Linked DNA regions of Homo sapiens: region 2 is linked to region 1. The links are contacts of gene promoters, found by promoter capture Hi-C in blood cells and fetal thymus (Javierre and others, 2016). All regions are on one chromosome and are shown on one strand. Each heading gives the region's core, a stretch centred on a gene start or on the middle of the fragment in contact. The rest is flanking DNA. Distances are from core to core; before and after follow the strand shown. Region 1 holds the start of SEL1L (SEL1L adaptor subunit of SYVN1 ubiquitin ligase). Region 2 overlaps GALC (galactosylceramidase).

Region 1 (7,883 bases), core at 1,807-4,306:
TTACCAATTCAAATGGAACGCAAAGAAAAGCACAGGAAAGGATATATCCCACTAGAGTTGGTGACAATTGCCCCATTCTCAGGAAAAGTCTCTGGAGGTTGTCTCACCATCCTTAAGTGAAAAGCAAGTTGGATTTATGTCCTCAACACGTTCAGGTTCTCAGCATTTGTTAATTGCTTGATTCATTTCAATGGCATGAGGTTACATCAGTGTCATCTGCATTAAAAGGTGTTTATTACCTACCTCTGTTGAGTGCTATGCTGTGCTGCAATGCAGAGCAAACAGGTTTTCTGCAACTTGGAAATCTCTGACAATGACCCAGAATGCTGATATGGACAGATGGAATAAAGACAGCTGAGCAAATATTGAAGCAGTCTAAGAATTAATAAATAATATTAACATTTTGTACAAGTACATAACCTTAACTGGGAATGCTGGCAGGTAACCTTGAGGAGTGTATGCACAGACTGGATAGGCCATGGAGAATTCACAACCTTTTTTCTAATTAATCTCATGTAATATAGCAGGCTGATAAAATAAATCTGACTTTCCCACAGCATATTCTGAACCACTTTGGAGACTTGGAACTTCCCCAGGAAGTCAGGTCCTATGAGAATTCTCAGAGCACGTCAGCTACTCATTGCTGGCTAAAGGCAAAAGCTCTAGCAGCTCTAAGCCCTTTTCGCATTAAGGGTATAAAACTAATTTCCCTCCTTCGCCTCAACCAAGCAATCAATAAGAAACAATACTATATGTAAAACATCCTACAATGTAGAAAGTGCTTTTATCCTGTGTCTCCATTTTGAATCTCACAACAGACAGGCAAGACATATCTATCAACCAATAAATAATTAACTAGTGCTAGTGGTGGCAAGTCCAGCACTATATACCTATACACAGAATCACATGATCATCTCCAGCCTCAGCATGTTTACAATCTGTTTATAAGGCAAGATTGTGAGTGTTCAATAGATTCTTAGAGAAATGAAGATTAATGAGGACAGATCTGGTTGGAGAAGTGTGATCCAAGACGAAATGTGAATGAAATTGGGAAGGATGCCAGAGTTATGGCTAAGTGAAAGAAGCAAGGGCAGTTGGAGAAAGGGTAGAGGAACCCTTAGGAAGACATGATTGTGTTAATGTGAAATCTGGAAAGTAAAACGGAAGTGGCTATTTGGTCCATGCAGCAGCACCCAGAACAACCCTTAAATATAAGACGTACTCAGTAAAGACAAAACTGAAAAAAGAAGTTGGGGCTTAACTAAGCAGCAAACTTTCCCCAGTTTTAATCAAACAGATAATCACTGGCTCTTCTGTAGAAGGCAGAAGTTTCTTCCCTGGTACTTCCCCAACAGAGTAGAACTGTCAGCACAGTTCCTATTTTGTGAGTAGAATAAGTTCTAATTTTTTTTATTCTGTGAAAAGTGTAGCCATTGAAAATTTTCAATAGGCATATGAAAGCAGTGTTTAAGGAAAATTAATATGGCCATGATATGTGATTCAGGTTAAAGGGAGAATGATGTCAGTGAGTATGGCTGGAACTCAGGTGCATCATCCAGGTGAGAGAAAATGAAAGCCATTAGGGGAGTTTTCAGTGAGGAAGAGAACAGAGGTACATAATAAAATAAAACAATTTAAAAGTTACATAGTTTAAACTGATAGAACTTGATTATCAATAAGATGAAAAAGAAAGGAAAATATACCAGATTTTACTCTATGATTTATAATCAGAGGAACTCAGAGGGAACATTGTTAGTGACAGAAATGGTGATGTAGCTGAAAAGACAAGTTTTTGGAGGAGATAATTCTTTCCTTCATCTCCTCCGATGTGAATGAGAAACAGTGGTTGGTTTTTTACCATCTTCCTGAAAATAAAAGGCTGTATCTCAAAAAACAAAAAACAAAAAACAAAAAAAAAAAGGAAGGAAGACAAATGCCCAGAAGTGTTAAGACACATGGCCAGCAGAGACTTTTCCAAAGTCCTTCACTTGGCTGGACTAGGTTCTAGGCCTTAGAGCTGACTGTGGGTGGATGACAGGGAAAGCAGAATGACACGGTTTGAGAAAAGAAAGGGCAGGCACACCAAGTCACTGCTCTGCTACTCAGTTGGAACATGCCTGGATTTCGTGCTTATTACATAGAGTATTTCCGTGCCTGCGATGCAATCACTATCACCTCTACCTCCACACACGTGAACCTGGTCTCCTGACTTTAGTTAGGAAAGAAGAGAACAATGCAACTCACAAGAGGAGAAGGATGAGGACAAGTGTTTAAAATAATTTTTCAAAGCTGTTGGCACATTTTCTTTATGATTATTGTCTGGTGAACCTAGTGAAAATAAATACTGTATTGAGATAATCTGTGCCGAGCGGATTTATTTCCTTTTGTTTTGTCGGAGAAAGGAGGACAGGTACTGAGTTGCACCCTGGTTTCCGTACTTCACGGTACTGTTTTATCTAAGTTTTAAAAAACACCTCAAATTCAACTAGCTGTGGCATTTTTCTCAGTGCTCTTATCACTATGCCCAATTTAAATTTTTTAAATAAAACAGGAAAAGATGCTAAACACATTACAAGTTCTTAAAATTATTCCTTAATATTTATTTTGGGTCAATTTAAAAAGGCTTGTGAATCCATAGCCTTGAGTTAATATTTAGCCCAGGTGTTAGTTAAATTCTAACTTCAACAGTCACCCGCACTTGTAAATCTTGCCCTACGATGGACTACGTTTCCCAAGAGCACCCCCCGAGTTAATCACATGAAGCGCATTCTGGGAATTGTAGTCTCGGATGAGCCTCTTTCTCCCAGTCTTGGACTCACGCGCTGATTCCGGTTGAACCCAGGGGCTACCAATTAGCTGGGGCCATGTCCGTGAGTCGTGGTCCAACCGAGAAAGCTGGTGTGGGAGCTTCGTACAATGATTGGCCAATGAATGACCCCCGGGGCGGAGCAATGGGGGTGGGCGGGGAGACCATGGTGATTGGACCAGAAGCCCGCGACGGCGGGCGGGGATTGGCTGCGCGCTGGGTCAGGGAAGCCTGGGAAGGGGCGGAGGAAGGAGACTAGAGCAGGAAGAGCAGCGGCGAGGCGGCGGTGGTGGCTGAGTCCGTGGTGGCAGAGGCGAAGGCGACAGCTCTAGGGGTTGGCACCGGCCCCGAGAGGAGGATGCGGGTCCGGATAGGGCTGACGCTGCTGCTGTGTGCGGTGCTGCTGAGCTTGGCCTCGGCGTCCTCGGGTCAGTATCCGCCCCCTCGGGCTGAAGGCCCAGAGCCTCCGCCCCCCAGCCTCTACAGCCGGCGGGGCCGTGGGGACTCCAGGCTCGGGACCCCGTTCTCCCTGGGCACATCTCGCACTGGGCTGTCACTCGCTCTTTGGCTTTGCTTGGCCTGCGCCAAAGGGGCTATTTAGGAAGGTGGAGTGGGGTGGAAAAAGAAGGGGCGGTCACCCTGCCCACACCTCTCTCCCACGTAACAAACTTTGCGCGACTCTTCTCACGAACGCGGAATTGACTCCAAAGGAATGAATCCTGATACAGGAGCCCGAGTGGAGCTTCCTCGACCCTGGGGTAGAGGAAGGGTCTGGTCTAGAACTCTGGGCTTGGGAATTGTAAGTTAAATAATTGACAAACCTGGAGCTGTCACTTTGGGGCAGAGGAGGATCCATCCAGACCAGGATGTTGACAGTAGTTTGCTTAACACCTGAGATGGTCCCTGGTCTGTCTGTTTAAAAACGAAGACTTTTGATCTCATCGTAGCCACTTTTTACTTTTTTGAAACCTTCCTGAGAAAGCGGTGACCTGTCACAGTGTTTCTGAGTTGCCCCATGTTTGTTGACAGTCATTTTATGATGTTTGGGAAAATCTTGGTTCTTATAAGATGCGTTTTATATAGATACAGAAATTTGTGTGCTTTTGAATTGATTTTCCAGTTAGCTAATGTTTATTCTGGTTCTGCTTTTTTCCCCCTTTTTTAATGTTTTAATCTGCCTACATTTGAAAATTTCCATTTTGAGAGTGTTCATGAAAACTTCGTGTTTCTAAGTGTTGATAAATAAAAATTAGTACAGTAAAACTTTGGAATTTTAATCAGTTTCAGTTAACAGGACAGGTGTTCTGTGGCTTGACGTTTTGGGGGGACAACACGGAGTATAAATGTCAGCTTTTTCTTTTTTTAATAAATGTCAGCTTTTTTTTAACAGAAAATTTCCCAGATGGTTATCTGAATCCCCAAATTACCTGTCCTAGTTGTAAATCAATGCCATAACGTCATTCTGCTTCTAAAATAAGAGGCTTAAACCTAAATTCTATCCATGATGTGGTTTGAGATACCATTTCAAAAGCACCAACCCTATGCTAATTACTTTACTGCCAACATCATTCTTTCAGGTCCACTCCCCTCCCTCCAGTAGTAGTGATGGTTTGAGTTAATGACCAGATCTTTAGACTATACTTAACTCTCGAAGCACTTTTAGCAGTTATTTAATATTTGATCAAAAAGCATGAAATGAAGCTGTTGAGCTTAATGAGTAGAGTACCTGCTGGACCATGGACCTCCTGCATCAGAATTCCTCTTATGGGTTTGTTAAACATTGGGTTTTAGGTCTGGAACAGCTCAGGTATACATAGATTAACAATCTCCATGAGGGATTCTTCACACTAAAGAGAACTACAGTAATGAAAGAGCACGGTGTGTATCCCTCTGAATTTAATTGGCAGAGTTTAAAGAAAATTAAAGCATAGGAATTGTGCTGTCTGTCTTTGACTGCATTTTATATACTTAGAGCTCCATGCCAGTGGAAAAGATATTTGAAGATCAACAGTTGGGGCTTTCAGGATGTTGTAATAAAAGACTTAACACTGATATATTAAATCCTTGGGTTGTATTGATGTAGGTAGAGGACTGTATTCAAGAAATGTCTGCTCTGATTTCCATCATAGTTAAAGCTGTGCCACAACATTTCAATGGTAAAGGCAGAAGCCTTAGCCAGAACTAAAACAATGTAGATGTGCATGCTAAAAGGTAATAAAGGCAGTGCTGTGCTCACATGAAGTTCATATATCATAAAACACCTGTGCGGGCCCAGCTCATACCTGTAATCCCAGCACTTTGGGAGGCTGAAGTGGAAGGATCACTTGAGCCCAGGAGTTCAAGACCAACCTGGGCAACATGGCGAAACCCCATCTCTACGTAACTCCAGGTGTGATGGTGCACACGTGTAGTTCCAGCTACTCGGGAGGCTGAGGTGGCAGGATGGAGTGAGCCCCAGGAGGTTGAGGCTGCACTGAGCTGTGATTATGCCACTGCACTCCAGCCTGGACAATAGAGCGAGACCCTGTCTCAAAAAAAAAGAAAAAAAAACAACCCTGTGTTAAATAAAGTTGTGTAAATTAAGCTATGGATTTTCAATTGTGATTTTCATTCACAGGGTTTCGGCCTCAAAGTTTAAAGTTTTACTCCAGTATTAAAATCAAGTTTTTGGTTATAATTTTGTGTTTGAACATTAGTGGTTACCCAGGGCAGGTCGCATCTCTCCAGGTGGAGTATGGTCAGCCAACAAAGAGAATCTTGATTCTATTGCTGTTGATAGCTGTTAGCTAGTATCATGTTTTAGAAGCATGTAAAAATATGATATAGTCACATGCTACATAATGACATTTTGGTCAACAATGAACCCCATGTAAGATGGTGGCCCTGTAAGAATATAATGGAGCTGAAAAATTCCTGTCACCTAGTGACATTGTAGCCATTGGAACATGGTAGCACACTTTTTAAAAAATAAATTTAGTGTAGTTTAAGTGTACAGTGTTTACAATAGTGTATAGTAACATCCTAGGCTTCACATTCACTCACTCACTCACCCACAGCAACTCTTAATCCTGCAAGTTCCATTTATGGTAAGTGCCCTAGACAGGTATATGTTTTGTAATCTTTTACACCATATTTTCACTGTAGCTTTTCTATGTTTAGCTATGTTTATGTACACAAATACTTACTGTTATGTTACAGTTGCCTACAGTAGTCTGTATAGTCACATGCTGTACAGATTTGTAGCTTAGGAACAACAGGCTACACTATGTAGCCCAGGTATGTAGAAGGCTATCCCATTTAGGTTTAAGTATACAAAAAGGAAATCGCCCAGTGATACACTTTTCAGAACATATCCTCGTCATTGACACATGGCTAATATTAGAAACATTTTCTCTTTTCTATTAATAAATTTAAAGGAGGACACTAAAAAGATATTTCTTCATTTTCTCAGGATAATAGTGAAAAGGTTATAATTTTTCTCACAAATGCATGCTTTCTTATTTTTGGCAGAAGAGGCAAATGGCTTAACCTTTTTTTTTCTTTGTGCCAAGCAGTGTTAGTCATTTTAGTTAGGTCCACTGCCAGGTATTTCAGGTAATAATTATAAATTCAGAGAGTAGTTTTCAGACAGCAGAGGATGTTTAATTTCACTGTTTTGGTCGTTCCTTAAAATATTGTGAGTCAGCGGGACAGAGGTGTTACCCCTTTTGACAGATTGAGAAACAGAGGCTGAGCAAGCTTTTGTTACTGAACCATGTGTCAGAATTAACATGTGATGAAGCCAGGTTCCAGACCTAGCTCTCCAGGTCTCAGAATTGAAGAAATTTAGAATCGAGAGTATCTTAGGATCTGTACCAATTTAGAGCTAAAGCAGAGAACAGGATATCTGGTCTGTTTTCACCAAACTATTTAGACTTTCTGTGTTTAAAGGTTATCAGTCTGTTTAATTTACGTGATGAATGGAAAAATGATTTTGTAGTGATCACTTTTCCCTGAAAGCATATCTCTGGTACTTTGCAGTTTTGTTAGCTAATACAATAAAAATAAAAACTGGTCCTTTTCAAAGGAAGGTGTACAGTTAATAAAATAATATGAACCATTTGGATGTGATGCTGATGAGCGAGAAGCGCATAACTTAATCCTTTTGCATTTTTTTCTTGTTGCTTGATATCTGTGTTCTGATGAAAACATTACTGTTTGCTTTTTATTTATGCATAACTTCAGTCTCTTTAATCCTTACCTGAATACTACTTATCAGAAGTTCCTAGGTTATAAACAACTCTTTAAAAAGTGTTGTGTGAATGTTTATATCAGTTTGAAAAAGAAAATAGCTTATGCTTTGAGACTACCATCTGGAGTAGGCTTTCCCAGTTTAGTAACTGAGAATTATCTTATTCACCAGTAATATTAGCATATAGTCCAGGTTGCGAAGAGAGAGGGAGAGAAAGAGAAGCATGATGCAATTCACATGAAATAACTCTGATGTTACAAATCATGTTTCTTGGAGTTTGAAAACACGTTTTGCTACTCTAATGCCTAACAGCTTGTGCTGTGTGAAATGTACATGTCTTTAAGTGTATTTACAGATGTGTCCATATGATTCACCTGTTAGCTACCTATGTAACCTGTTGTGGTGAGGTACTAAATGTAGCAATGTAGTGATAGTGATTTAGAGTTCCAGCTAATCTAAAGTTTCATTCAGTATTTGGGGGTATTTCATATATGTTTAAACATTTAATATCTGTTTTGATATATTAACTAGTTGAAGTTTGTGATTAATTACATATACTTACAGTACAACTTTGATATATTATAGAGATGGGTTTTTTAAATTTATCTAAAGATTTGCTGAGAATGGAATTTGAACCACATGTTAGAAATTGGGCTTTGGGTAATACTTGTGAAGAAGTTAGCATGAAGGACAATTGTTAATTAACTGACATCATTGCCTAATGTTATGGGCGCTGTGGGACTAATATGTGGCATACCCTTCTCTCCACCTGCCAGAAGTAAAACATACTTTGAAGGTAATCTAAAAGTAGGTGAATATGAATAGTAGCTGTAATTTAAATTTTCT
Region 2 (6,092 bases), core at 1-2,500, 6.5 Mb before region 1:
AGAGCCCTATCGTTCTCAGATATTGGATTATCTCTTTAAGGTAATGAAAACATAATTATTTCATGGTACCTGTGATATTTTAGAAATTGGATGGTGAATTTCACCATAGAATTTATTAGCCTCACAATTCTAGTTTTTGAAAAAATGGCACATTACTTTTGGAATAAATTGCTATTTGAAGTTTTGCTTTTGTTTTTGCGTCTGTAAAACCTAAGGCAGTAATTAGTAATTGTCTTGAAGCTTCATACAATACAACACTATGTTAATACTGTTACTTCTTTTCACAGCCGAATTTTGGTGCCTCTTTGCATATTTTAAAAGTGGAAATAGGTGGTGATGGGCAGACAACAGGTAGGAGAATTTGGGAGATAGGATTTCTCCCATCAACATTTTAATCTATACCTCAGCATATGGACTGTGATTTCAGAATATGTGTAAACAATACCAACACTTTTGAGATTGATTGTTGCTTATTAGAGTTTTCCTCATTTTTTAACTGTAATTATTTAAAAATATTATATAGAATATGACTGGTCCATCAAAAACAATATTCAAACTTCAAATTGCTTATTTAGTTGAAGTAATCGGTAGTAAACAAATCCACAGTTTTCTAAAACCTATATATACAGGACAGAGCATAGGGACAGTTTTGAATTTTATTGAGCAGTTAGAAAGATTTTAATTTCGTATAGAACAAAAAAAGTGTTATTAACTTAAAATATGTGGTAAAAATGATACAGCTTTTTTTTCTTTTAAAAACAAAACTTATCTTTAATCACTAAATCTTCAGTCTTCATTGTCACTATTTTGATTGGCTTTATGTAGTCCATGTTATCAACTGGCAGTTTATAGGCCTTTTGTTTCCAGGAAGAAGAAAAGAAATTCTCTCTATGATTAGATATAGCTTATTATTTACAGAACAGATTCCATTATAATGAACTCTAGAGTATTACTTGTATTCCTGCTAGTGATTTGGAAGTAACTCTTTGTTGAACAGATATGTCTATGTGGTGGTATTAGTGTTTATGTTGAAGAAAAAGTGCAAAGCAAAAACAAAAGAAACCCCCATAACAGAAACTTTCTTCAAGCTATTGCGTTTTACTGTTAAAACCTTTTAGGCAGAATTGACAATGATGGACTAATTTCACTTGCTGAAGCTAAATTAGAGGTAGAGGTACATAAACAGGCAGTTCTTGTGAATTCTGATGTTTACCTTTAAGAAGAAATGGGCAAGGGCCTCTCGGAAGGCCCTACTTAGCAAGGGCAGATGTTGGTGAACTGTGGGAATATACGAGGACTTTGATAGCAATTACCTACCTCAGTGCTAAGACAATGTAACCTCTACTAACTGCAGATGTTAGTATAGAATTTTGTTATTTTTAGAGTGGATATGTATACTCATTCCTTTTTTTTTCCTCAAAACTCTTCCTATATCAAGACATATTATAGGCTAAAGGTGTGGGTTCTGAGAACAGGGCTCACGAGTCCAGGGATTCATATCCAGCGTTGAAAAGCTGAAAGTTGAGGTAATCAGAACTTAAAGTTGGACATGGGGATTTGAAAACTACAGAGAGATCAAAAGCCCAGAAGCATGAATACTGGGAATTTTTAGTTATATGAGGTGATAACATTTCTCTCAGTACTGCTTGTAATAGAAGGTTGTGGTTTTATTAAGACTTTTACAATGCTTAAGATAATAAAAAAAGGATGAAATGATATGCTTTTATCATCCATCCTTTAGTTGTGTAAGATTATGATTTCCCCAACTTCAGGATTAGAACTGGAATACTGCTTTTGTGAAGTGTGTGTCTGGGGTGGGGGTGGGGAGTGAGATGGTCCTAGGAAGTACCATTCATGGATCATTACTTCCGTTTTTGCTCTCCTCTATTCAGACGGCACTGAGCCCTCCCACATGCATTATGCACTAGATGAGAATTATTTCCGAGGATACGAGTGGTGGTTGATGAAAGAAGCTAAGAAGAGGAATCCCAATATTACACTCATTGGTAAGAAATGAAGTTTGCAATGTTTCTTCAGTCTCTTTTCCTTTAACTTTTAAATTCTGAATCGTGTTGGTGGAATCTCTATTAATACGGAAGTACTCATAATGTCATTAATGCTACCAGTATGCTACCAGCAGCAAAGCATGTGCCAGGGGTGATCCTTTCTTTGCCCTTGTATATTATGTTGAATCCTTATAATACCTGTGGAGTAAGGCATGACTCTTTCCATTTTCCAGGAAGAAGCAGTAGAAGCTTAGGAAGATTATGCCACTGACCTAAGGTCATAGACAGTTAGTAAATGGCAAAATCGGTGTTAGCACCTAATTCCATGTTTCCTATGATGCTAAACTACTTTCCTTCACAAGATCTGTCATCAGTATTTATAAAAGGGTAACACTGTTCACAAAAATGTATATTACATGCAGTAGTACACCTAACTAGTTACAAAATTGTATATTGCATGTAGTAGTGAACCCTATTTTTAGAAAAGGTACATACAAAAGTGTTTTTTGTTTATTAGTTAGTTTTTGAACTTCAATAATGTGCTGGTTACTGTTCTGGGACTCAGGAAGCCAATCCCGTCCCCAATTCCTGCACCTGTGGGGCTTAGGTTCTATTGGGAGGATCATTGGCTAGTTGCTTAAATGGGACTATGTACATTTCACAGTTCTGTGAGAATGTGTACAGAGCTTGTGAAGTATTTCAAACATCAAGAGTGATGGGATACTTTCATCATTTGAAATGAATTTGATTTTTTGAAACAGGCTTAAATTCAAACTAAGTTAAATGAAATTAATGATTCATTTTAAAGACCTGATTTCTAGTTATTTAAAAAATAATTTTCTCAACAATCAGGTTAATGAAAAGTAATATTTTCTAAGTTAAAAGAAATTAGGAGTAAGTATGTTCTTTATAAATGGGCTTTTGTAAGAGATTCCAGAAATGCTGTGAGCAGTAAAAGCATCACTGAATTCAGCACATATCCACTAGACTGCTTCCAAGGTCAGACCTCATTTAAATGTAGAAAATATGGCATGCTAAACCATGTCCTAACAAAGACTTGGTAGGCCTTCAGATTGCATTTAGCATTTCATTGTTTTCAAGAATTCTATTACTTTAATGTCACATTTCTTATGTAATACACTTGGGTGTTCCTCCTGAGTTTAGAAAATAAGCATTTTGTCATTTTGATTTTTATTTTTTTCAGTGGTGAACTAGTTTGGTAATATATTTATTGCTGAGGAACTTAACTATTGAGCCTATTTTAATATATTAGTAGCAAGTTAAATTTAGAATTATAATAAGTACTTTTCTACTCTTCTTATTTTTTTACTTAAACATAATCAGGATTATTGGAAGAATATGGACTTATTTGATGTGTATCACTTAACAAGGGTATATTTCTCTATGGAGTCATTGTCATTTATAGTGATATAAGAACAAACTAGTTTTGCTAAATTAGATTGCCTGACTGATTAATATTTTAAGGACCCTAAATTGTAAGAAGATGTACAATTGAATGATAAATTTGTGTTATACATAACTCAAGAGTAGTTTGGCATAAGCCTTTTAGAATTCTTTGATTTGACCTCAAAGAACAGAAGTTGAATATTGAACATTCCAACAGTGAGTGGACATGTTAAGTTAAAACATATGGTACATTTCTTTCTATTGGTAAGGGTCTTGGAGAGAGGTGTTTGTATTTGTTATTTTTCTTCTTCTTGGAAAGAACATTTGAAATTATGGGACCTGACTCTAGGGATCAATAAGGAATTATAGTGTCTATAGATTGGAAAGGATTTCAATAATTTTTATATGGTATATAAACTTTCCTTTAGTCAGATCTGTATTGGTTTTTTGCTAGTTGAATGCTTTTCTTAAAAAAAATTTGTTTTATTTTCAATAGCGCCAGCACCGTTATACCTCCTCTACCTTTGCCTCCTCCCTTCTCTCTGCAGGGTTGCCATGGTCATTCCCTGGATGGCTGGGAAAAGGTTTCGACTGGCCTTATGTCAATCTTCAGCTGACTGCCTATTATGTCGTGACCTGGATTGTGGGCGCCAAGCGTTACCATGATTTGGACATTGATTATATTGGAGTTAGTAATATATTTAAAATATGATTCAGTTTTGGACATTTGTTTGTAATTTAGAAAATAATTTGATTCTGTGGTACTTTTTGACTAACCATTTTATGCCATGAGGCTAATTTGTTCTAATGGTGTCTGATAATAACACAAACTAAGTACCTGTGACCTTTAATTGCTCCCCTTTGCCCATCCCAGTGTTCCCACTTTTGAAAACTGTGTTGAGTGTATACCTCCTTCCTCTGAGCTGGGTTTTTTTTTTTTTTTTTTGTATCAACCCAACTCAAATTCTCCTTCAAAGCTTTCCCTGCTTTCTCTGGTTCCTACAACAGTGTTGTGTTTCCTATACAGCTTATGGGGGGTTAGTCTCATTTTATCCTCTTGTTGTCTTAAGCCAAAGATTGGCAAACTTTTTATTAAAGGGCCAGAGCATAAATAGTTTTGGGTTTGTGGGCCAAAAGGCAATATTGAGGATCTTGAGGTAAATATATAGCCATTTAAAATGTAACTATTTAAAACTAAAAACACTTTTAGCTCTCAAGTTGTAAAATTACAGATGATGGGCCAGATTTGGCAGGCTGGCTGAAATCTGCGTTCACCTGTCACAAACTGTTAGTTAACACCTTTTAAGGATTTGAAAAGTATGAAAAATGATATCATGTCCAGCTTGTCTCTTGGCTGGGTGGAGGCATGCCCCAGGCTGCATCGTACCCCACAGGGCCTTAACACACACATAGTGGGTCTCCATAATCATTTGCTTATTAATATACCATCAGTTAAAACTAATACTTAAACATTTTCATGCAATCATGACTTAGATTATCAGCAAACAATTATTGAGTTCCTACTGTGTTGCAGGAACTGTGACTGTAATATTTGAGGGCTACTAAGATTAATAAGCTCTTGTGTTCAGTAAGAGAAGTAGATGCTGGAACATATAAACTGTAATACTACATGATGATACAGGGCATGAGGATGAGCCAAGGGCTGGAGGAAGTCAGAAGAAAGAATATACTAGTTTTTGCTATCCTTTTCCAAATTATGACTGAAAAATTAGTTTATATTTGAGAACTTTCCTTTTTTTTTTACACTGTCACCCGGATTGGAGTGCAGTGTTGTGATCTTGGCTCACTGCAACCTCTGCCTCCTGGGTTCAAGTGATTCTCCTGCCTCAAGTAGCTGGGATTACAGGCACCCGCCACCACACCCAGCTAGTTTTTTTTTCTTTTTATTAGAGACGGGGTTTCACTATGTTGGCCAGGCTGGTCTCAAACTCCTGACCTCGTGATCCGCCCGCCTCGGCCTCCCAAAGTGCTGGGATTACAGGAATGAGCCACCACGCCTGGCCGGAGAACTTTCTTAAATGTCAGGACATTTATAACCTGTAGTGAGACTAAATGTAGGTTTGGTCTAATAGCTTTCTCTTATGGTACAGTCACAAGTAATGGGTGATTCACATCTTGTTTAGACTCATGATAACAAATGCTATGATGAGGAGGTTCATTGATAAACTCTTTCCTGTATCATTGGAGTAAAAAGACCTGCACCTGGATTCTAGAATCGTCTCTTGTTATTAACAGTTTTCTCAACTGTGGAGTTATGGAAGTTCTTTCAATTCTAAAACCCCATGCTTCATGACTCTAAACCTAATAGATGTATATATGTTCCTTTTATCCATCCTCATTCAGAGTTGCTTTTGTGACTAGTGTATTACTGTGATTCTCTGTGTATGCTTAAAAATATGCCTTCTATACAGTATACATATTAATACTTGGCTTTCAGGGATCTTGTCATAATTGTTGTAACAGTTTCCCTGTCTATTAGTTCTCCAATGCCTAGTATAGTTTCTGGCACACATTGTACTGTCAGTATGTGTTGAATGAATTAATGAATATTCCATTGTTGAAAATCTTTGGAATAAATTACTTTTTGAAAAATACCCACTAAATATTTTAAGGTTTTTAAAAATAATATTTTAATTTTTAAAAAGTTGTGCTATCTTA

Evidence for each region. Contacts are between HindIII fragments. The CHiCAGO score rates a contact against its expected background, and 5 or more counts as called.
Region 2: a fragment that was not itself captured here is called in contact with the fragment with the promoter of SEL1L in region 1 in 1 of 17 cell types (total CD4 T cells); the score reaches 5.4 in total CD4 T cells.

What each region holds. Positions count from the first base shown.
Region 1 is chr14:81,529,026-81,536,908 of GRCh38, reverse strand. SEL1L (SEL1L adaptor subunit of SYVN1 ubiquitin ligase) reads left to right here and starts at 3,056. Exons shown (of 21, transcript NM_005065.6): 1 at 3,056-3,234. The coding sequence starts at 3,165. RefSeq lists a silencer at 2,933-3,052 and an enhancer at 2,769-3,268. The HindIII fragment of the contact is 11,079 bases long and covers 1-6,546 here.
Region 2 is chr14:87,982,403-87,988,494 of GRCh38, reverse strand. It overlaps GALC (galactosylceramidase), which reads left to right. Exons shown (of 17, transcript NM_000153.4): 2 at 1-40; 3 at 288-351; 4 at 1,893-2,006; 5 at 3,962-4,101. Among named protein-coding and RNA genes, the nearest start is that of GALC, 7.7 kb to the left of the region's middle. The HindIII fragment of the contact is 2,015 bases long and covers 243-2,257 here.